Regions from separate parts of the Homo sapiens genome. Here regions 2, 3, 4, 5 and 6 are each linked to region 1. Evidence: promoter capture Hi-C in 16 types of primary human blood cells and fetal thymus (Javierre and others, 2016). All regions are on one chromosome and are shown on one strand. The core of a region is centred on a gene start or on the middle of the fragment in contact, and the rest is flanking DNA. Distances in the headings are between cores, read along the strand shown. Region 1 holds the start of PTPN18 (protein tyrosine phosphatase non-receptor type 18). Region 2 overlaps CLASP1 (cytoplasmic linker associated protein 1). Region 3 overlaps CLASP1 (cytoplasmic linker associated protein 1). Region 4 holds the start of SPOPL (speckle type BTB/POZ protein like). Region 5 holds the start of UBXN4 (UBX domain protein 4). Region 6 holds the start of R3HDM1 (R3H domain containing 1).

Evidence for each region. Contacts are between HindIII fragments. The CHiCAGO score rates a contact against its expected background, and 5 or more counts as called.
Region 2: a contact is called between a fragment that was not itself captured here and the fragment with the promoter of PTPN18 in region 1, in 1 of 17 cell types (total B cells). The highest score is 5.7, in total B cells.
Region 3: a fragment that was not itself captured here is called in contact with the fragment with the promoter of PTPN18 in region 1 in 1 of 17 cell types (neutrophils); the score reaches 6.6 in neutrophils.
Region 4: a contact is called between the fragment with the promoter of SPOPL here and the fragment with the promoter of PTPN18 in region 1, in 2 of 17 cell types (neutrophils and monocytes). The highest score is 10.0, in neutrophils.
Region 5: the fragment with the promoter of UBXN4 here is called in contact with the fragment with the promoter of PTPN18 in region 1 in 1 of 17 cell types (neutrophils); the score reaches 8.8 in neutrophils.
Region 6: the fragment with the promoter of R3HDM1 here is called in contact with the fragment with the promoter of PTPN18 in region 1 in 2 of 17 cell types (neutrophils and activated CD4 T cells); the score reaches 6.1 in neutrophils.

Annotation. Positions count from the first base shown.
Region 1 is chr2:130,354,147-130,357,923 of GRCh38, forward strand. It overlaps PTPN18 (protein tyrosine phosphatase non-receptor type 18), which reads left to right and starts at 1,910. Exons shown (of 15, transcript NM_014369.4): 1 at 1,910-2,054. The coding sequence starts at 1,962. RefSeq lists silencers at 1,490-2,159, 2,300-2,349. The HindIII fragment of the contact is 15,291 bases long and covers 175-3,777 here.
Region 2 is chr2:121,533,007-121,536,783 of GRCh38, forward strand. All of the region lies in intron 2 of CLASP1 (cytoplasmic linker associated protein 1), which reads right to left. CLASP1-AS1 (CLASP1 antisense RNA 1) reads left to right here. Exons shown (of 2, transcript XR_001739683.2): 2 at 1-660. Among named protein-coding and RNA genes, the nearest start is that of RNU4ATAC, 4.0 kb to the left of the region's middle. The HindIII fragment of the contact is 4,052 bases long and covers 1-3,777 here.
Region 3 is chr2:121,628,737-121,632,513 of GRCh38, forward strand. The region is part of intron 1 of CLASP1 (cytoplasmic linker associated protein 1); the gene reads right to left. Among named protein-coding and RNA genes, the nearest start is that of CLASP1, 19 kb to the right of the region's middle. The HindIII fragment of the contact is 7,742 bases long and covers 1-3,777 here.
Region 4 is chr2:138,500,044-138,503,820 of GRCh38, forward strand. SPOPL (speckle type BTB/POZ protein like) reads left to right here and starts at 1,727. Exons shown (of 11, transcript NM_001001664.3): 1 at 1,727-2,076. SPOPL-DT (SPOPL divergent transcript) reads right to left here and starts at 1,652. Exons shown (of 2, transcript NR_187149.1): 1 at 1,276-1,652; 2 at 1-837. RefSeq lists silencers at 1,623-2,162, 2,363-2,412. The HindIII fragment of the contact is 5,215 bases long and covers 1-3,777 here.
Region 5 is chr2:135,739,887-135,743,663 of GRCh38, forward strand. UBXN4 (UBX domain protein 4) reads left to right here and starts at 1,969. Exons shown (of 13, transcript NM_014607.4): 1 at 1,969-2,125. The coding sequence starts at 2,044. LOC107985946 (a long non-coding RNA gene) reads right to left here and starts at 2,758. Exons shown (of 1, transcript NR_163478.1): 1 at 943-2,758. RefSeq lists enhancers at 1,587-1,716, 2,047-2,106, 2,435-3,210 and a silencer at 2,507-2,556. The HindIII fragment of the contact is 10,462 bases long and covers 1-3,777 here.
Region 6 is chr2:135,529,874-135,533,650 of GRCh38, forward strand. R3HDM1 (R3H domain containing 1) reads left to right here and starts at 1,611. Exons shown (of 27, transcript NM_001378107.1): 1 at 1,611-1,760. It overlaps ZRANB3 (zinc finger RANBP2-type containing 3), which reads right to left and starts at 1,345. Exons shown (of 21, transcript NM_032143.4): 1 at 1,254-1,345. RefSeq lists enhancers at 658-737, 1,088-1,357, 1,326-1,620 and a silencer at 1,588-1,777. The HindIII fragment of the contact is 3,394 bases long and covers 1,499-3,777 here.

The sequences.
Region 1 (3,777 bases), core at 660-3,159:
CTTCAGCTGGACGACATGCCCTCCACCAGTCAGACAGACCTCAGCCTATGAGGACAGGCCCTCAACAGGATCCCTGCTGCTGGACAGAGATCCTCTAGCCCATAAAGACTGCCCTGAATAACCATGTGTGCTCAGGGGCTCACATTTTCCCAGAAAATGTCTTTATTTTCTGAAAGCTTACTGATGCTTCTGTATTCTACCTCCCTGGATCTCCATGGCCATCCACAAACCCTCAATGATTATACTGAGAGTCACTATCATGCACTGAGCAGAGCTCTCAATGACTTCCCAGACTCTTCGGACCCTTCAATTACTAACACTCCAAATCCCAATGGCCCCACAATTACTTTCACTTCTTGTCCCAAGTATCCACTGGCCTCCCAATGACTGTCATTAATATCTACTGACACCCCCCCCCCCATGAACATCCAAGGGACCCCGACTGGCTTCCAATGAATTCCCTATCACCACCATCCTAAACAATTACCTCCCTGAGAATGCTCAAAGATGAAACTGATAAATGATGAACATGAATCTCACAGTGACCCCTGCGGACCCCACGATAAATCAAACAGCCCTAGCTGCTGATCCCCACAGAGCCACTTTGATCGCTCCATCACTTCAGCCAAGGTCAGCAAACGACAGCCTGTAGGCCACACACACACACTAGAATAATTCATGACACATGAACATTACATGAAATTCTGATTTCTTTGTCCATAAATGGTTTCTTTGGGACACAGCCACACTATATTGTCTGCTTTCATGCTGCCACAGCTGAGTTAAGCAGCTGGGGCAGCGATAGCAAAGCCAAAACCACTTCCTACCGGGACCTTTAAGAAAGTGTGCCCTTAAATACTCTGATAGCCCCTAGTGAATTAAATTGACCACCTGACATCATGCCCCTGTTGACCCTTCAGAGACTCAGGCACACATCCAGGCCCCAATGCTACCTTTCAACCCCTCAACGACCTCAAACTGGTGTCCACTGACGCCCCTTCCAGTGACACCCCTCTTAATTCTTCCGACCTCGGCGAGAAGGGGGCTAACCTAGGCCTGTCCTTGAAGAGACCCAGGTGCCAGTCCATTCTCTCCAGCCTCCCCTCGGTGATCCCGGAAGCTGGAACGGCGGCTCTCCTCTGACCTCTGCACACTTTCTGAAGATGGGAGTGTCAGGGCAGGCAAAAAAGAGAAGCTCTTCGTTCCCCAGAACCCACTTCCAGTGCCTCAGTTCTGTTTCCCAGCAGGCTTGTGCAGGTCGAGATGCTCACACAGGACTGACCCTGGTGCCCCAGCGCATCCGGGAAAAAGGAACCACAAATTCCTCGGGAAATACACAGAGAAGATCCCGCTGCCACTTGGCCTTTCCCACGGCGTGGCTGCCCCTCCCCGGCCTCCCTTGGGCCCGGCTGGAGCGCACAGCGCGGGACGCCCCCGACCCGGGGTCCTCTGGCACGAGGGGCAGCCTGATCTCGGCGACCGTCTCCACCCAAGGCTGCTGCCCGCCCCAGCTCGGACTCCGCGCGGCCTGGCTCCCAGGGGACGGGCGGGAGGGCCCGGCGAGACCGCTCGGCCGTCCACCCAGAGCCGGCACCCGGAGGTCGGCCCCTGGGCGCGGATCCCGATCTGAGGGCGGGTCCCAAGCGGCAGGGAGCGAACCTGGGACCGTGCCACCCCCCCACCAGTGGGCGCGGCAGCCGAAAAAAAGGGGAAGCGCCGGCGCTGGACTCTGCTCAGGGCAGCCCGCGAGGACCTAGGGCTCCGGCCACAGCGGCCCGAGCGCCCGGGGTGGGGCTACGCGGGCTCAGAACACGGTGGCTGGGGCGCCCTGCCCGCCGCTGCGCGCTTCCATTGGCTGCCGAGGCAAGGGCGGGGACTCAGTCACCGGCCTCCGCCTCCCGCGGCGTCCACACTCGCCGCGCGCGCGGCGGCCGGGCTGGACCTTGCTGGCCCGCGGCGCCATGAGCCGCAGCCTGGACTCGGCGCGGAGCTTCCTGGAGCGGCTGGAAGCGCGGGGCGGCCGGGAGGGGGCAGTCCTCGCCGGCGAGTTCAGCGTGAGTGGCACACGGGGTCCGCGAGCGGCGCGCCCCGGCCCTGGCCCTGCGTACGCCTGTCCTCCGCGCACGGCGGGCTCTGCCTTTCTGTCTCGGTGTCCCCGGTGTCTCCCCGCCTCGGGGGGTCTCTCCGTGTTTCTCTCCCCAGCACTTCTCTGTCGCTCTTGCTGTCTCCGTCTTCACTCTCTGCCCCCCGGCCCCGGAGCGCGACGTCCACGGCCAGGCCGGGACGGACCGTGCACACCCTCGTTCCCGGTGTCCTCGTCGCGCTCCCGGAACAACCTGGCTGCGGGCGGGACAGGTGGGGCGGGCGCCGCAGGGGAGGGCGGGCGGCCCTGCTGCGCTGGACAGCCCCGGCCCCGCCGCTTCTGGCGACCTGACTGTCCCCTGTGACCACAGGAAGGAAGGGGCTGCAGCAGGGCGAAGAGGAACACGGAGGCTGTGGCGTGGTGAGGGTGTGAACGCCGGGCTCGAATCCGCGTCCGGGCCCGAATCCGCTTCCCGTCCCGAATCCGCGTCCCGGCCATCCGCGTGTGGTCCAGGCGGTCTACCTGGCCCCTCTGACCTCGGCTTCTCCCTTGGTGAAATGGGGACATGAATGACCAAACTGGTCTAAGGATTAAATGATGTGGGTGAAAAGCACTTAGTACATATTGGGCGCACACTTCGTAGGGGCGTTCGTCACTGCCTATAAAGATTCTAAACGTGGGCCAGGTGCGGTGGCTCACACCTGTAATCCCAGCACTTTGGGAGGCCGAGGTGGGAGGATCGCTTGAGCTCAGGAGTTCGAGACCAGCCTGGGCAACACAGCGAAACCCCGTCTCTACTAAAAATACAAAAATCAACTGGGCATGGGCGCATGCCTGTAATCCCAGCTACTAGGGAGCAGAGACAGGGGACTCGCTTGAACCTGGGAGGCAGAGGTTGCAGTGAGCTGAGATGGTTCCACTGCACAGCTGAGATGGTGCCACTGCACTCCAGCCTGGGCCACAGAGTGAGATCCCATCTCAAACAAAACAAAACCAAACAAAAAATCTAAACGTTACAATACAGGTAGTGCAAGCCCAGCATTAGGAAGGCTCACGCAGAATGCTAGGCACTGTACATTACAGTTGATGACGTGTTTAAAGTGTAATCGCTTATGTACCAGACATAGAAACATACCATACAAACGCATAAACTGATATATGGTGACATGTATCAAGTTTAGAAATATGACAAATATATAAAAGTATTATAAATGACCGTTTATACAATAAACATTGCATAACTGCATAAAACAATACAACAAATGAATATAACAAAGATTATAATTTATAAAATGACCAAAGTTATTTGATAAATTCATAAGTAGATATAAAATATGTAACAGATGGCCGGGCACGGTGGCTCACGCCTATAATCCCAGCACTTTGGGAGGCCGAGGCGGGCGGATCACGAGGTCAGGAGATCCACACCATCCTGGCTAACACGGTGAAACCCCGTCTCTACTAAACACACAAAAAATTAGCTGGGCGTGGTGGCGGGCGCCTGTAGTCCCAGCTACTCGGGTGGCTGAGGCAGGAGAATGGCGTGAACCCGGGAGGCGGAGCTTGCAGTGAGCCGAGATCGCGCCACTGCAGTCCAGCCTGGGCAACAGAGCGAGACTCCATCTCAAAAAAAAAAAAAAAAAAAGTAACAGATAATTATAAACCTAAGTAATTTACACACATGTAGAAACATT
Region 2 (3,777 bases), core at 715-3,214, 8.8 Mb before region 1:
CCTTCATACATCGTTCAAGGCTAAGGTAAAGAGGACTATTGTTTATTTGGGGGAAAGCTGACGTCAGCTTTTCCAGGATGGCAGTTTACTTGGTAGGTCTGAGCAGAGAAGGCCTCGCTAAGCCCCGGACAGTCAAGTTTCAATGCGTTGCCTAGAGGAACTGGGGAGCCTGGAAACTCCCGAAGAAGACTGAGTGGGTAGATGCACCTGAGCCCCAGAGAAATAGGACAGGAGAGGTCCAGGGTGTCAGCCAGGAGGACAGAAGGCAGTTCCAGGCACTTTCACAGCTCAGGCCCTTCTCCTGGGTTTCCATTTCCCTACTGAAGAAAGGGATACATGAAAAAGTCCTTGCCCAGAAGACCACTCTGATAATTAACTATAAAAACCTCTTTGTGCCTAACCTCCTCATCTGTAAAACATGGACAATAATAACAGCTGCCTCGTGGGTTGTTGTGAGGGTTAAATAAAGTGTGTATGTAAACTGTGCCTGGCACGTGGTAAGGGTACTTTTTTTTTCCCCCTATTTCTGCTTTCTTCAGCCCTTAGGTTTATAAAACCAACTTCTTCTGCATGGCTCACTGGAATACACAATTCTGTTTTATGGAATGAGGTGTTACCTGATTCTAAAGTCACGAATAAAAGTCAATCAAAATCTTTAAATTTGTTGTAATTTTTTTCTTCCAACACCATTAACTCTGCGTGACCCTTGACTCTGACATTTTACTTAATTATCTACGTTTGTGCTTGTTTCCCCAGCTACACTCCTTGAATGTAAGGAATACTATCATCTTGCATTTCCTCAGAATTCCCATAATAAGTAGCACAATGCTGGGTACACGGTAGGTGATCAATAAACCCTACTGTATTGATGTGAATGAGACTGGAATAGATGAGTTCTCAAGGTCCAACACATCTTCTTTATCCTACAAACCTTTAAAAGACTCTTTTGTAAAAGAGAGAAGAGGGCTGACCAGGTCACTGGGACCAACACTCCTGCCGAGCACAACTAAAAAATGCTGGACATAAAAGGACACCTGCAGCATCAGAGAACTAAGAAGGCACAGAAGAACTTCCAGGTCAAGAAACAGAGACAACCAAAATTTACAGATATAAGCCTGCAACAACTGGTTCACTTTGCCCTGGGGCCATTTATACACTGGGAAAGGGCACAGAGAATCACTTTTAATAACCTCTTGGGTCATCTAGGAGGGCAAAGGTTAGATTCCAAAGCCCTCCAAAGTTGGTGACCTAGTTAACCCCCTACCACATGTGCTGGAAACCCAAATGGCTAGACTTTAGGAGGAGAGTGAGTTGGAAATAAAACAGCCTTCACAGGGACTGCAGCCCAGTTTCCAAGCATCTGGGTGGCCCAGAAAAATCCTAATCCCTGACATCAGATTAAAGTGAGGTTAGACTGTTTGTGCCCAAAAGCCCTGAGCAGATAAAAACACAAGTCATTTCTGGATAAAGAAAACATCATCCTAATAATCTAGTCCTCGGATTATTCCTGTAAAAATTTTCTTTTGTTGTTGTTGTTGTTTGTTTTTTTGAGACAGAGTCTCGCTCTGTTGCCCAGGCTGGAGTGCAATGGCACGATCTCTGCTCACTGCAACCTCCGCCTCCCGGGTTCAAGAGATTCTCGTGCTTCAGCCTCCCAAGTAGCTGGGACGTGTTATCAGCCCAGCTAATTTTTGTATTTTTAGTAGAGACGGGGTTTTATCATGTTGGACAGACTGTTCTTGAACTCCTGACCTCAAGCAATCTGCCTGCCTCAGCTCCCAAAGTGCTGGGATTACTGACGTTGAGCCATTGTGCCTGGCCTATTCCTGTAACAATTTTTCAAAGAGAACATCTGAAACACAACCAAAGATAACCAGTCACACAGGACAAAGTGAAAACTAGCAGAAACAAAGACCAACCTGGACTCTGGGTCCCTGGATAGGAGAATAATTGCAAACGGACTTTAAAATAACAAGTCAGGCCGAGTGTGGTGTCTCACGCCTGTAATCCCAGCACTTTGGGAGGCCAAGGCAGGCAGAGGCAGGCGGATTGCCTTAGCTTAGGAGTTCAAGACTAGCCTGGGCAACGTGGCGAAATGCCACCTCTACGAAAAAATACAAAACTTAGCTGGGCGTGGTGGCATGCACCTGTGGTCCCAGCTGCTCTGCTCGGGAGGCTGAGGTGGGAGGATCACTTGAGCCTGGGAGGCGGAAGTTGCAGCGAGTGGAGATCGTGCCACTGCACTCCAGCCTGGGTGACAGAGAGACACCTTGTCTCAATAAATAAATTAATTAAATTAAATAACCAGTCTTATTATGTCTAAGAAGAAAAAACACATGATTAAAGTTTTGGGTAGAGAAATGACAACTTTTAAAGTTACATAGGTTAAACAAATAATACAAGAGAAAATTAAATACTCAATGCATGGGCTCTTTTTCCTAAGTGCACTGTAAATACATGAAGAGAACTAAACAGGAAACTAAGTCTGCAGAAAAAATCCAGAATAAAGTAAAGAGAAGCAAAAAGATGGAATATTCAAAAGAATAGGCAAGAGAGAATAGAGAGAAAACATCAAGTTTAAATGGAATTTAAAAAGAAGAAATGAGAGACAATAGGTAAAAAGTAACGGCTGACATTCATTAGAATTTTTTTTTTTTTTGGAGATAGGATCATGCTCTGTCACCCAGGCTGGAGTGTAGTTGCGTGATTTCGGCTCACTGCAACCTCCATCTCCCAGCTTCAAGTGATCCTCCCGCCTCAGCAACCTGCCCCCTCCCCAGTAGCTGGGACTACAGGCGCGTGCCAACACACCACCCAGCTAATTTTTTGAGCTTTTGTAGAGGAGAGGTTTTGCCATGTTGCCCAGGCTGGTCTTGAACTTCTGGACTCAAGCGATCCGACTGTGTTGGCCTCCCAGAGTGCTGGGATTACAGGCATGAGCCACTGCACCCAGCCCTATTTTATTAAAAAATAAAAAATAAATACTGTTGGTAAAGATGTAGAGAAACTGGAACTCTTGTATACTGCTGGTGAAGTGTAAAATGGTAGAGTTGTTGTGGAAAATGGTTATAGCAGTTCCTCAAAAAAGATTAGGGCTGGGCACAGTGGCTCACGCCTGTAATCCCAGCACTTTGGGAGGCCGAGGTGGGCAGATCACGAAGTCAGGAGATCGAGACCATCCTGGCTAACACAGTGAAACCCCGTCTCTAGTAAAAATACAAAAAATTAGCCGGGCGTTGTGACGGGCACCTGTAGTCCCAGCTACTCGGGAGGCTGAGGCAGGAGAATCGCATGAACCTGGGAGGCGGAGCTTGCAGTGAGCCGAGATTGTGCCACTGCACTCCAGCCTGGGCGACAGAGCAAGACTGTCTGAAAAAAAAAAAAAAAAAAAAAAAAGATTAAAAATAATATTACCATATGATTCCAGCAATTCCATTTCTGGGCATATACCCAAAAGAAGTAAAAGCAGAGTTTCCAAAGACAGTTGTAAACCCATATTCACAGCATCATTATCTACAGGAGTAAAAAGGTGGAAACAACTGAAGTGTTGATTGACAGATGAATGGATATACAAAATGGAGTCTCCTGGTCTACCCATACAATGGAACTTTAGGCCTTTTCTGAAACACTACAACATGGATGAACCTTGAAGGCATTATGTGGAATAAAGTAAGCCAGTCACAAAGACAAATATTGTCTGGTTCCACTTACATGAAACACCTAGAGTAGTCAAATTCACTGATACAGAAAGTGGACTGGTGGCTGCCAGGGATTGTG
Region 3 (3,777 bases), core at 796-3,295, 8.7 Mb before region 1:
GAGAATAAAAAGTAGTAATACATAGGACAATTTGGCAACATCTCTTCACCCAACCAGTTCAAAATCTAAGAATGCATCTAAGGAAAAATTTATCAAGTATGCTAAAATGGGGTGGGCACCATGGCTCCTGACAGAGCGAGACTCCATCTCAAAAAAAAAAAAAAAAGTATACCAAACTGAACATATCAAGTTGTTCACTGCAGCTGGTCATCCTTTTTTTTTAATTCTTTTTTCTCTTTCTTTGTTTTGGTCATCCTTTTTTAATGAAATAATCCTAAATGTTAACGAACAGGGAAGTGGGAAATAAATTACAGTACATCCGTACAACAGCATACTATGCAGTTACCAACAATGATGATAAAAAATCTGTTCTTGCCGGGCGCGGTGTCTCAGCCTGTAATCCCAGCACTTTGGGAGGCCAAGACGGGCAGATCATGAGGTCAGGAGATCAAGACCATCCTGGCTAACACGGTGAAACCCCGTCTCTACTAAAAATACAAAAAATTAGCCTGGCATGGTGGCAGGCACCTGCAGTCCCAGCTACTTGGGAGGCTGAGGTGGGAGAATGGCATGAATCCGGGAGGCGGAGCTTGCAGTGATCTGAGATCGCACCACTGCACTCCAGCCTGGGTGATAAAGCGAGACTCCATCTCAAAAAAATATATAAAAAATAAAAAATAAATAAATAAATCTGTTCTTATTGGACTTTAAAGGTATCTGCAATCATTTTAGTGAAAAAAGCAAACTAGAAAACAATTAGAAAAGCAAACTAGGCCGGGAGCGGTGGCTCACGCCGGTAATCCCAGCACTTTGGGAGGCCGAAGCCAGTGGATCACCTGAGGTCAGGAATTTGAGACCAGCCTGGCCAACATGGTGAAACCCCATGTCTACTAAAAATACAAAAATTAGCTGGGCATGGTGGCAGGCACCTGTAATCCCACGTACTTGAGAGACTGAGGCAGGAGAATCACTTGAACCTGGGAGACAGAGGTTGCAGTGAGCCAAGATCACACCACTGCACTCTAGCCTGGGCGACAAGAGCGAAACTCCATCTCAAAAAAAATAAAAAAGCAAACTAGAAAACAAAAATGATGCCATTTTTGTTTATAAAATAAAAACTTTTTTTTATATGCATCTTGCATAGAAAACGTATGGAAGGGAACACACTAAAATGTTAATACTATGTTTTCCCTTTTTTTATTGAGATGGAGTCTTGCTCTGTCACCCAGGCTGGACTGCAGTGATGCAATCTTCGCTCACTGCAACCTTCGCCTCCCAGGTTCAAGCTATTCTCCTGCCTCAGCCTCCTGAGTAGCTGGGATTACAGGTGTGCACTACCATGCCCAGCTAACTTTACATTTTTAGTAGAGACAGGATTTCACCATGTTGGCCAGGCTGGTCTCAAACTCCTGACCTCAAGCGATCCACCCGCCTCCGCCTCCCAAACTGCTGGGATTACAGGCGTGAGCCACCACGCCCAGCCTCTATTCCTATTCTTTCTAGTTAAATCATACTCTATCCAATAAATTCCAGAAAGTTGTTTTTAAAGTTAAATCAAATTGTAATCCTGATATCACAATCATCATCCATTACTACAAGTATTGAAAACTACAGAAAGTTTGGTAGATCACCATATTGGAAAGAAACACACACACACACACACACACACACACACACACACACACACACGCAGAAGCAATTATTCAGTAAATCTTCTGTATCTAGTACCCATCTCTAGAAGGCAGTATTGGTAACATCTACAAGGAAACAAAACTTATTCCTGCCTCGTCCAGTCACAAAATTCTTGCCAAGTCAAAAGAGAAAAGCAAACAAGAAATGAGAAGAGGCCGGGCATGGTGGCTCACGCCTATAATCCCAGCACTTTGGGAGGCCAAGGTGGGTGGATTGCCTGAGGTCAGGAGTTTGAGACCAGCCTGGCCAACATGGCAAAACTCTGTCTCTACTGAAAATAAAAAAATTAGCCGGGCATGGTGGTGGATGCCTGTAATCCCAGCTACTCAAAAGGCTGAGGCAGGAGAATCGCTTGAACCCAGCAGAGGTTGCAGTGAGCCAAGATCTAGCCATTGCACTCCAGCCTGGACAACAAGAGCGAAACTACGTCTCAAAAAAAAAAAAAAAGAGGCCGGGCGCAGTGGCTCACGCCTGTAATCCCAGCACTTTGGGAGGCCGAGGTGGGTGGATCACAAGGTCAGGAGATCAAGACCATCCTGGCTAACATGGTGAAACCCCATCTCTACTAAAAATACAAAAAATTAGCCGGGTGTGGTGGCAGGCGCCCATAGTCCCAGCTACTCGGGAGACTGAGGCAGGAGAATGGCATGAACCCGGGAGGTGGAGGTTGCAGTGAGCCGAGATTGCGCCATTACGCTCCAGCCTGGGTGACAAAGCGAGACTCCAGCTCAAAAAAAAAAAAAAAAAAAAAAAAGAAATGAGAAGAAAAGTGCTCAATTTGCTTTTGATCACTGAACTATAGTCATATTTTAATTCAAAAAATGACACATGACATGTTTCTACGCCATTTTAAAATTACTTTTTTTTTTTTTTTTTTTGAAATGGAGTCTCGCTCTGTCACCATGCTGGAGTGCACTGGTACGATCTTGGCTCACTGCAACTTCCGCCTCCTAGATTCAAGCAATTCTCCTGCCTCAGCCTCCCGAATAGCTGGGACTACAGGCACACACCACCAGGCCCAGCTAATTTTTGTATTTTTAGTAAAGACGAGGTTTCACCATGTTGACCAGGATGGTCTCGATCTCTTGACCTCGTGATCTGCCCACCTCGACCTCCCAAAGTGCTGGGATTACAGGCGTAAGCCACCAAGCCCGGCCTGAAATTACATTTTTTAAACATATTTTTAAAATACATATTGCAGGCCAGGCACAGTGGCTCACACCTGTAATCCCAGCACTTTGGGAGGCCAAGGTGGGAGGATCGCTTGAGCTCATGAGTTTGAGAACAGCCTGGGCAACATAGTGAGACCCCATCTCTACAAAAAATACAAAAATCGGGCCAGGCGCAGTGGGTCACACCTGTAATCCCAGCACTTTGAGAGGCTGAGGTGGGTGGGTCACCTGAGGTCAACAGTTCGAGACCAGCCTGGTCAACATGGTGAAACCCCGTCTCTAGTAAAAATGCAAAAATTAGCTGGGCGTGGTGGCGTGCCCATGTAATCCCAGCTACTCGGGAGGCTGAGGTGGGAGAACTGCTTGAACCCAGGAGGCGGAGGCTGTAGTGAGCCGAGATCACGCCACTGCACTCCAGCCCAGGCAACAGAGCAAGACCCCATCTCAAAACAAATAAAATAAAATAAAATAAATAAATAAAATAAATACAAAAATCAGCCAGGCATGGTAGTATGCACCTGTAGTCCCAGCTACCTGGAAGGCTGAGATGGGAGGATGGTTGGAGCCTGGGAGGCAGAGGTTGCAGTGAGCTGAGATTGTGCCACTGTACTCTAGCCTGGGCGACAGAGCTTTGTCTCAAAAAACAAACAAAAATGTATCTTGTATTGCAGGCTGGATTTCATCAAAACCTCCAACGTGAATAATCTGGGAATATCTATTTATAGCAATGTTAAGGCACGTAACTTTTAACCCAAAATGTCAACTTCTGGGAATTTATTCATATATGTGCAAAAATAATATATTATAGAATTATTCTTTGCAGCATTGTTTATAAAAGCAAAAGATTAGATAAAACTAAATGTTCATCAATAGAGGACTCAGGAAATCATGATATGCCATGCAACAGCATACT
Region 4 (3,777 bases), core at 477-2,976, 8.1 Mb after region 1:
GTCAACAGGATTGCTAACGTAAGGTCAGGTGCTAATCCCAGCATTTTGGGAGGCAGAAGTGGGAGGATCACTTGAGGCCAGGAGTTTGAGCCCAGCCTGGGCAATATGGTGAGACTCTGTTTCTACTAAAAATACAAAAATTAGCCGGGCTCACGCCTGTAGTCCCAGATACTTGGTGGCTGAGGCACAGAATTGCTTGAATCTGGGAGGTGACCCAGGATCGCGCCACTGCACTCCAGCCTGGCGTACAAAGCGAGATCCTGTCTCAAACAAACAAAAAGAAAAAAGAAATAAAAAAGACAGCTAATGTAGTATTAATTTGAAATGAGGGGGATCTGCCTGTCCAGTATTCAAATCCCAGTAACCTCTGGATGAATTACTTGCCATTTCTAGTTCTTGTCGCTTAATTTTAAGATGGAAATTTCTACGTTGAAGTTTTAGAGAGGTTGTTGAGAGAACAGAGACGATACAAGTCCATGCTTAGAATACTCAGTACATAGCAAAATAATAAATATTTTCCCTCTGCCCTCTCTCTTTTCTTGGAAAGCCAGGTAAGCAATGAGAAGTTGGTTTATGGCCAGGTGTGGTGGTTCACGCCTGCAAATCCCAGCACTTTGGGAGACCAAGGTGGGAGGATCCCTTGAGCTCAGGAGTTCGAGATCTGCTTGGGCCACATAGCAAGACCTCGTCTCCACAAAAAATTAAGATTACCTGGGCGTGGCACATTCCTGTAGTCCCAGCTACGGGAGGCTGAGTTGGGAGGATCACTTTAGCCTAGGAGGTCGAGGCTGCAGTGAGCTGTGATGGCACCACTGCACTCCAGCCTGGGTGACAGCCCTGTCAAAAACAAAACAAAACAAAAATTGCTGACGTATGCACAGTTAAAGCAAAAAGAGTTGGGATCCTTGAATGACGTTCATGTCTGTTCTGGCAAAGCCGGGATTGTTGGTCCCCCAAACTTCTTTAAAGAAGTTTACTCCTGGTAGCTCGATTAAGTATCTTTGTCCCATGGCCGTGGGGAATAAAAAGTTCAGTTGTCACCCCCTTTTTAAACTAAATGTCCGAAGAGACAAGGCAATCCCATCCTCTCTTCACACATTTGTGCAGGTGCAGCTTTATTTCCCACCGTGCGGTCCCAGGAGGCCGCCTGGTCTTCTGCGCTCACTTCCTAGGCATCCCTGGCCGCCCCTCGGCAGCCTCTCCTTCTGGCCTGAGACTTCCAGCTGAGCCTCATCCCCTCCACCTGAAAACTGCTCCATGGGGCACTTCATCTACCTGGAAAGTTCTCGATTTCCAACTGGAGCCTGTATACTGCTGGTTGTGTCTCAGCAGTTATTACAGCTCTGGGCTTACAACGGGAGCTTAGCAAAAGTTCCACCCTGGCTTCCTAGACTGCTACAGCTCCAAGAAAAATCCTGTGCGCACAAACGGCCGCCGCCTTTGGCGTCTCCCGCGGATTAGACCAGTTAGGAGGTCTCAGTAGGCTTTTAGGCAGGACAAGTTTTACGCCTGGCCAAATAAGGGTCAGACTAAGCAAGGCGCCTCCGTGCGCCTAGCCAGAGCGGTGCCGGCTGCGGAACCTGCCCCGCCGGGAGCCTAGTGCCATGCAGCAGCGGCGGCGGTGGCGGCTTCCCAAGCGCGGCGGCAAATCCGGGCCCGCCCGGAAGTGCCCGGCGCTGTAGGAGGGAGCAAGGGCCCAGGAGCCGCCGCCGCCGCCGCCGCGCGCACGCGCCCTCGCGGGCTGGAGCCGGGGCTGGAGTCGTAACTCGGAAGCCGGAGCCCAGACGGGCCCGCGGCGGGGGGGTGGGGGCTGCGCGGGGGCGGGAGTGGCGGAGGTGGCCGCCCCTGGCGGCGGGTTTGTTTATCCCGGGGAAGAAGTTTAGGAGCGGGAGATAGGGAAGGAGGGCGGGTCGGGGAGGAGGGATGCGGTTCGGCGGAGGCGGCCGCCACAGGGACTTGCCGCCATCACCCCTGCTGCCACCACCGCAGCCTCGGGCTCCCAGGGCGGACACGGCCACCGCCTCAGCGGGAGAGGAGTCTCCACCAGGACTGACCGCTGCCGCCCAGCACGTCCAGGTAGGCGCCCCTTCCCCTCCCCCCAGTCCCCGCGGCAGCCCCAGGCGCTTGCTCCCCTCCCCCGGCTCTCCGTAGACCGGCGGCCTCCTGCTCGCGCCTCACTGCGCCCTCTGCTCTCTGGGTCCCGGACCCCTGCTCGGGCGGCGAGCTCCGGCCTGCTCTGGGGACTACCTCCCACGCCCCCGGACCGCCCTTCCCTCGCGCGGCGGCACCACTTTCCCCGGGGTTGCCCCCAATCCCTCCTTGATTTCCCAGCCTCCACCTTCCAGGATCCCCTTTAGTTTTACCCCCGGGCCTCGCCCCTTCTTTTCCTCTGGCTTCTCTCCTCCTCTATACCTGTATACCTCCACACCTGCCCCTTTTTACCTGAGTGCTGCCCAAAGGCAGAAACTGCATGCTCTGCCACCGCGCAGCGTCCACTTTCATACCTCCTCATCCCAAATACAGACACTTGAAACTCTCGTCCCTGTTAGCCCATTTTAGGCAGAGTTCTCAGCTTCGCAGACCGCTCACTACCTCCAGTCCGGTGGTCATGCCTTTAACCTCTCTTTAACCTGCTTTCTAATACATTTTTGCTCACTTATACCAGAGTACATCAAGCTAACCGCGCGGTTCGGGGTCCAAGTCTTCAAAGAGCCCACTTGTATTCCTGCTGCTCTCCTTTTTCCTAATTCTTTTTGAGTCAATGTATTTGTATATTGATTCAACATAAAAGAAAAGGGAAGGTAGCATTTTCTCTCTCAAAGCAGTCACACAACCCAGTAGAAATAAGATTCACCATCTGCTTATCCTAACTTTCGCTTGTCTCTTTCCTGACTGAACTCTGTCATTCAGTGATTCTTTCCAGGCTTCTGATGCTTTGTCTATTTTTGAATAATCTTGGGCCTAGTTTGACCCATTGTGGTACTCACTTTCCCACTTGCAATTGAATCCACTGTTTCTTGGACTAGAAACTGACAGAGGTAAAAGGTTCATACCTTGAAAAATTACATCTCTCCTGCCACGATGAGATTGGTGGAATATTTCAAATTACCATTTCATCATTCTTGTGAGAAATGTTGCCTAGTGGTTAAGAACTCTTCTCTAGAGCTCAGACTAGTATATAGTTGCCAGGGTGTAAACCCTTGCTCTGCCATCTACCAGCTTTGGCTTTGGGGAAGTTACTTAATATTTCTTCGCCTCAGTATACTTACAGCTGTAAAATGGGGTTATGATATGACATCACAGGATGGTGCTAGTAATTGCACAAGTAAATACAAGTAAAGTACTTAAAACAGTACCTGGCACAGGGCAAATATCTGATAAATGCTATCATCACTTCTTGGTTTGACTTGATCTGGCTTGTGGGTAGATTAATTCTAAGACAGGAAGGTGGGAATGGAAAGCTACTTTCTTATTCTTTGACATTTAACAACCTTTTTTGATATAGATAGCATGTATAATTTGTTATTGTATAAATTAATTCCTTCTGATTTGAAAACTACAGGGTTTTAGCCCACCATTTTCAAGGCAGCTAACTACCAAGCTACAGATAGGTCAGTCCTTATTTCAGATGTCTATTTGGAACTTCTACAATTTTACCTTTGTTTTGAGAATAAACAAAGTGAAAGTACTGTGTATAACAGATTCATCATACTGGAAAATGAGATTTTACAGATAAAAGTTTTAGTACTGTAAGTTAAATACTCAAAACTGGTGGTA
Region 5 (3,777 bases), core at 719-3,218, 5.4 Mb after region 1:
TGGTCTTGAACTGCTGACCTCATGATCTGCCCGCCTCGGCCTCCCAAAGTGCTGGGATTACAGGCATGAGCCATTGTGCCTGGCCAACTCTTCTGTTTAAAATTTTTCAATGGCTCCCTGTAATCCTTAGAAAAATGTCTTAAAATTTTTAACATGATTTTCAAGACTCTGTATCATCTGATCCTTGCCTAGCTTTCCAGCCTCACTTGTACCACACTCCTCTTTCTATGTTATAGCCACACTGGGCATTTTTTAGTTCTGCAAGTGCACTGTGTTTGCTTGCTTCAGAGCCTCATGTGGAATAGCCTTCTCCTTCACCTACCTAGAGTTCCCCGACACGTCATTTCCTCATGAAGGCCCTTTCTGACTCCACTAGCCCATGTTCGGTCCCATCCTCATACACTTCTGTAGCACTCTGAATTACCCTTCTGTGACATTTATCATCACTCATAATTACTTATTCAATGTCTGTCTTCCTGACTAGACTGTACAGTCACAAAGACAGGGCCTTCTTCTGACTGCCTCACCTCCTTATCAGTGCCAGGCACAATGCCTAGCTCATAAAAGATGAGTGATAAACACTTGACAAATGAATATAAAACTATGAAGGATTCTTATTTAATTCTAAAATTAGAGATAATTAAAGACATAGCTCTATTGGAATAATTTCTAGATTGATCAAATTTCCAGAAGTCCATTAAAGTTGATGTTAAAGGTCAATTCTAATTTTTCTGTAGGATTGTTGTCCTATAGAAGCAACTGTCCCTAATCAGCATTATGTCTCAGTTTATAATAACACTATATACGAGAGGCCTGATTGGGAAAAAAAGTACAAAAATCGGAGTGCAAATAATTAGCTATTTTTAGGGAAAATATCTGTAGGAAAGGTGGTATATTCAGATGTATCACTTCCTTTATCTTGCAAAGATTGTCAGATAGATGTACTGCTGGAGGATAAATTTAATTGATGTAGAATTTAACATAATAGTATATGCAACTTTAAATAAACCATGCAAGCCTTTAGCTAATAGTTATTACAGACCATGTGATTTCATGAAAGTATTAAATATGGATCAGTTTTCATTTAATGGCAGCCAATCACAAAGCGCCACATCTTGATTATAGGACATTCTCCCAGAAAATTGGAAAATAAATCACTATCTAGTCTCTTTTGTATTACCATGGAAAGTAGCTGGAAAAGAAATAATCTATTCTCTGCTTTGTGTTACTTTAAAAAGTAGCTGTGGCAATAGCCTAACGCGTTTTGAAGTTTTGAAATGATCTCTATCCAGTGTCTAGGAAATTGCTGAAGGCCTGCGTTCTACCAATTCCTCCGCTTAGGCACATGGACTACAGGTTATTAAAGAAGGTGACTTGCGGTTTTTATCCCGTTTTTCTGCAAGGTTGGGCTACGTTCAGAAGAAATCAAAGCCTCGGAGTTAATCCCGACAAAGCCCATTTAGTTCCATGCGAGGACTATTTCCTCCACACTGAGAGTCTCAACGAGGCCGAGAATAGCATATGCCAGTTGGAGTGACACTTATTTCTCCCTCTCCCCTTTATAGAATGTGTAGTGGCCCTCACTACTGCCCCCTTTAGCTGTGCCTCAGAACCCACAGTTACATGCTCCACAATATGGAGGCGAATAAGCCTAAGTGGACTACAATTCCCATCATGCCTCACTGCAGGCGCCGCCGACGTGTCTTAGCGGTTAGTCATCCCTCTTACCGCTTTCCTCCACTTCCTGGACTGCGCGACCGGAGGCCTAGCGGGCGCGCGCCCGCACCATCGACTCGCCAACGAGAGAAGGTCCTGGGGCACGGACACCGACGGGTTGCGACTGTGACGTGAGGTGTTCTCGCGCGCGCTAGCGCGCGTCTCCGGGTGCCGCTGACGGGCGTGCGCGCTTGTGCGGAGCCGGAGGTGGGGGCCGAACCAGCCAAGGTTGCGGGGGCCGCAGAGCCGGACGAAGACGGAGGGCGGAGCCGGCTTCGGGACTGCGGAGACTACACACCGAGCGAGCGCCTGGGCCCGAAGGGAGCGATGCTGTGGTTCCAGGGCGCCATTCCGGCCGCCATCGCGACGGCCAAAAGGAGCGGCGCGGTCTTCGTGGTGTTCGTGGCAGGTGAAGGAGGCAGGGGTTCGAGAGGCGGCCGGGACACCCCTCCGGCCTACCTTCATCCTCTTGTATACCTCAGCCGCCGGCCCGCCCTCCCCGAGACGCGGGCTCCTGTCGGCTCGCACAATTGCCACTACTACCCCGCGCCCCAGGGACGGCTGCGACTCCGCCGCCAGATCCCCCAGAGGGGCCATGCAGACCCTCAGCGCCCTGCTCCTTCAGGCCCCGGGCGCCCCCAGCCTTTCCTCAGTGTCTGCGAGGCCCGGGCTGCCGGCCCGTGGCTGTTCAGCGCCTCCCCGGTTCGTTTGAGATACAGTGGGCCTGGCCCCACCGCTGCGTCTCCCGGCAGCCGGGCCGGAGGCACCGTCTGGCCCTGGTCTCCAAAGCGCCCCGAGGCCCGCCGAAATCTCCCCGCTCGGGGCGACGGACGCGGCCAGCAGGCCCCAGCCGCCCAGCCCCGCTCGTCGCCCCGAGCCTCTCCCCTGCGCAGCCAGACCCCCGCGACCCTCTCCCTGACGTCCCTCTCTGTCACCAAGGACCCTCTTTGTGCTGCTTGAACGCCCGTTTCGTTACTGCTGTTTAGATGGAGGTAGGAACGGGCCATTAGGCAAGCAGTTGGGTTGTAATTAGTTGTGGACTGTCGGGAAGAAAGCTGTGTCATCGATAAGCAACAAAGAGAAACCACCTGATGTTCACGGTTACTGGTGTTAGTACGTTCCTGAAACGTAAACTTTTGAGCTGAATAGAGGTTTAATTTTTCTTTATGGCAGTCTTGGTAGGGGATCTAGTGTGAAATAATGTAAGTTTAAAAAAAATCCATTAGTTTCAAAGAAAATAGACGTTCAGTCCTTGGTTTCTTCCCTTTGTTGTCTTCTTAGGCTAAAATCTACACGACTTTGAGAACGTTTATTAACTCATATATTCTCTGTTGCTCTAGGCTATTTTGCTCCATATTCTCCTGTTTTATTACTGAAATCTTGTAGATTTACAGTGAACTCCCTGCCTCTACGGTTCTGCTCATACTCATTACATGGACCAAATCAATGTTTGTGGCTGTTGTTAATTTGAGGTGTATTTCTTCAACTATTTGTGTTTAATAACGGTTTATTCATAATTAACTCGTCTTTTAATAGCTCTATAACTTTATGCACTGCAGTGAAGAACGAATTACTGAAATGTGAATGTCATTTAGCATTAAATTTGGAATTTATAATTGTTTTGTTACGCCAAGTTTTTAGCTCAATGCTGTTTATTAGAAGAGCTTGAATAGTTTAGATTCTGTGATGCTGTCTGGGGGTTATATTATACTTTACATAAATTAATTCTGTAATCCCGTAAGGAAAAAAATGGATTGAAAATGAAAGGAAAAGTAAATGACACTATGCTTATTGTGTACATTAGTAGGTTTTTGACATTTTAAATTGTTTTTCTCCTAATATCTCAGTTGATCCTTGCAGTAAATAGAACAGGTTTAATTATCCCCATTTTATAGATGAGGCACTTAGGTCAGCAGTCATAAAGTGACTTGCACTAGGGCCACAAAAAGGATTTACATGTCTTAACAGTCAAATTTTTTAGTAGCTTCAAAAAAACTGGCTTTTTTGTTTCTTAAGGAAAAAACTGAACAATTTGTAAATTGGTGATTTAAATTGGTATAG
Region 6 (3,777 bases), core at 361-2,860, 5.2 Mb after region 1:
TCAATCCTTCAAACAGAAAAGCCCTTTTCTGTGACTCTTTTCCTTCCAAGCTGACTTTAGAAGTGTGTTTGTGGCCGGGCGCGGTGGCTCACGCCTGTAATCCCAGCACTTTGGGAGGCCAAGGTGGGCGGATCACGAGGTCAGGAGATCGAGACCATCCTGGCCAACATGGTGAAACCCCGTCTCTACTAAAAATACAAAAAATTAGCTGGGCTGAGTGGCGCGCGCCTGTAATCCCAGCTACTCCGGAGGCTGAGACAGGAGAATGGCGTGAATCAGTGAGCCAAGATCCCACCACTGCACTCCAGCCTGGGGACAGAGCAAGACTCCGTCTCAAAAAAAAAAAAAAAAAGTGTGTCTGTAAATGTAGTTCAGAACTTCGGAGCCCTGTCTTTACAGTTCAAACTGACCACGCGAAGACTAAAGGCAGTAGAGGTACTTTCTACAAATTTAGCCGTGCAATCTAATAGCGAGCAGGCCGAGACGCCCGCGATTGAAGGCCGGGGTGGAGAAAGTAATAAGGGCCCTGGAAATTACCCCCATCCCATGTCACCCACTCTTTCTTAAAATGCCATTAAATTCCGTTCAACTTTTTATCTCCCATGCAAGAAACTAGCGACTTGCCAGCCACGCCACTTCCAGCCAGTCACACCTGGCGTATTCGCCGCAGAATCTCCAACTCCCGCCACAGGTTTGGGACGTGTCCGCCCCTAAGCGGAAGTGACGTTCAACGGGACAACGTGAAAGTAGATGAGTTTAAATACGTACTAATAATTTAAAACCCCTATGGTATTTTGAGGAAACTCTTCCGGCTACCCTTCTTCCATCACTTCTCTCCCGTTAGGGTTGCGAAAAGGGCTCTGTACAGCCTCGCGACAACTCGTTCTCCGCCCTAATTTCAAGTCATTCAAAACTCTGTCCCTTTTCATTGGCTGAAGCGGCGGCATGGGTACCTCTCAGGAACTACAATTCCAGCCAAGCACCGCGACAAGTGAACGGAGGAGAAGTTATGAGTAGGGGAAAAGCATGTTGGGAATCGTAGTCCGCTCCAGGCCGAAAAGAGCAATCACCCCGCCCTCCGCCACTGAAGCTGGAGAAACCAGGTGTTCGTTTCAGAACCCGTTAGCGCTAAGGGGAGGAGCCAACCCCTTAAGCAGCATGCCTCACTTCGCCCCACATGGAGGATAATTTTCCTTTACCCCTAAAAAGCACTATAAATACCCACTGAGGAGATCTGGTTGTCTTTTAAATACCTCGAGTCAGTAAAAACTCACGAAACTCCGCACCTCAGGCTCCAACTCGTGGGAAAAGGTAGCTCTTTTACAAGTGGGCAAAATGGCTGTCCTCCTAGTTTTACCATTGGTTGGCTTTTGCGTCCTTCAAGGGCGGTTACTTACCACGGATTGGTTCTTTTTCTCTTGAGGTTGGAGGAAGATTTGGCACGGCTCTCCGCGGCCTGGGAGGAGGTAAAGGGGTGGAGAGAAGACAGTTTTTTTCAAGCTTGATTGGGCAAAACTCATGTCACTCCGGGGACGTACAACCTATGAATAGTCGGCTGCCGCTCAAAGAGAACGAAGAGGCGGGGCTAGTGCGTGGTGGGAAGGGGCGGGATTCTGCCAGCCGCGGCTGCCGCTGGAGCCGGTGTCCGGGCTGGTGATGGGGTTAATTCCCTTTCGTAAGACTCTTACTTGCACCCACCCAGCCCCGCCGTCGCCCCGCCGCGCCGCGCTCCAACCGCCTCCTCCTCCTCAGTAACGCGGGTAAGAGATGCCCTTCCCTCCCCCGTCCAGCTCCCCGGGAATAACGCGCCTTGCTCCCCTCCCCCGCCCGCCAACCGGTAGCGCTAACGGAGAAGGAGGCAGGCAGGGGAGAGATGTGGTGTGTGGAAAGGTGGCCTTCCCCGCCGGGTCGTCGGCGCTTCAGCCAGGGCCTTCTGACGTCCCGCTGCTGCCAGCCCGCCGTTAGGTCGGGTTCCGAGTGAGCCAGGCTCGCCTGGCCCGCGGCTGCGGCTCCGGCTGCAGCTGCAGCCACTGCCTTGTGCCCACCGCCCCCACCCGGGGGCCATGTGAAAAGCAAACCCCTCGAGGCCTAGCGGAGGAGGCAGGGGAAAGGTTTCCGAGTCCCTGCCATGGCTGCTGCTGCTGCCTCCGCGGCTGCTCTTGCAGCCCCAGGGACTCGGGAGCCAGCCACAGCAGGCCTGCCAAGAGCGTGGTACTGCTCTCTCGTGTGGCTGGCGCCGGTGCCCCGGGCTCCCCCGGCCGCCCCACGGCCGCATCCCCTGGCCTTGCACCAAGAGAATTTTCAGCTTCGACCGGTTGGTAAAATGTAGGTACATTTTCCCTGTGGTACCAGAAAAAGCACAATGGGAATATTAAAAAGAAAGTTGAATGACTGTCAGTGCCACGGTCCCCCGGGATCAGATTTACACACGTTTTGATTCCTGAGCCTTAGGCTGCCAACAAATCTTTGTGGGCTTTGAAGTTTTTTGGTGTTTTGTTTTCTTTTGTTGCTGTGACTAGGTGCAAAGGGTGACTCTGTTGAGCTTGTTTTTATAAAGAAACTTAAATTATTGGGACTATCATGCTCCGTGTGTAATTGTCCTGGGATAGTTAAGTAAAAGGTGAAGAAGAGGTGCTTTCCAAATTAGGATTAGTGAACAGCAAATGGTTTTTCTAATAAAATTTTCTAAATATATATATATATATCTTCATGGTTATAGTTTACCTAATTGTAACTGTAAGAAACCTTTTTTAGCTTAAATATCATTGATGACAAAAACTTTTAAATGAAAAGATGATTAAAGTCAAACTGAAAGTCTACCCATTTATAATATGTGAAACAAGATCTTCTAAGTAATAGGATACCAGTCTGACAGGAATAATTGGACACGTCTCAATTTCTAAAAATTTGGCATATTTGGCTATTTTTAGGGCATTCTGTTATGATTTCTTCATCACATTTTGATGGAGTACGCTCGTCTTTTCAAATACCACTCTGCTTTTATGCCTGGAAGAATATGTCTTTAAATCATGGATTCTATAGTCTGTAGTAGACATAACTGTGATCAGAGATAAAATTCTAGGCCCATTTCTGAGGTTTACTTGTTAGCAGAATAAACTTGGGTTCTGAGGAAACATCTGAGTTTTGATCATTTCTTCAGGGTTTGAGAAGACTATGGTGGCTTAATGATCTTCTGTATTCCATAACTAGTACACCTAGTTACAGAATTGACATAGATACATTCAGGTCCTGGAGGAAATTTGTGGTATCTATTAAAAAAATGAAAATTGCCAGTCATGTAGTAGTCACCTGTAGTCCCTGCTACTCAGGAGTGTGAGGTGAGAGGATCACTTGAGCCCAGGAGTTCAAGGCCAGCCTAGGCAATATAGCAGAACATGGTCTCAAAAAAATAAAGAAATAAATACACAGCCTTGGAAGGCAAGTCCCCTGAGATCCCCACAGAGTTCCTGTAACATATATTGCCAGCTGCCAGCATAGTATTTTCCAGAACTTAAGAGTTAATTGATAAATTATACAATCGATACTTTCAGATCTTGGGTGATTTATATAGAGAAAGAGCTGTTGAAAATTTAGGAGTCTTCTACATTTTCTTCCTGGCTGTTGGATCCCTCCATGAACCTCAGTTCGGTTTCCTCATCTGTAAAATGAGGATGATAATGCTTAACTTAGGGAGTTATGAAAATTAGAGATAAATATATAATAGTGGCCGGGCGCGTTGGCGCACCTGTAATCCCAGCACTTTGGGAGGCTGGGCGG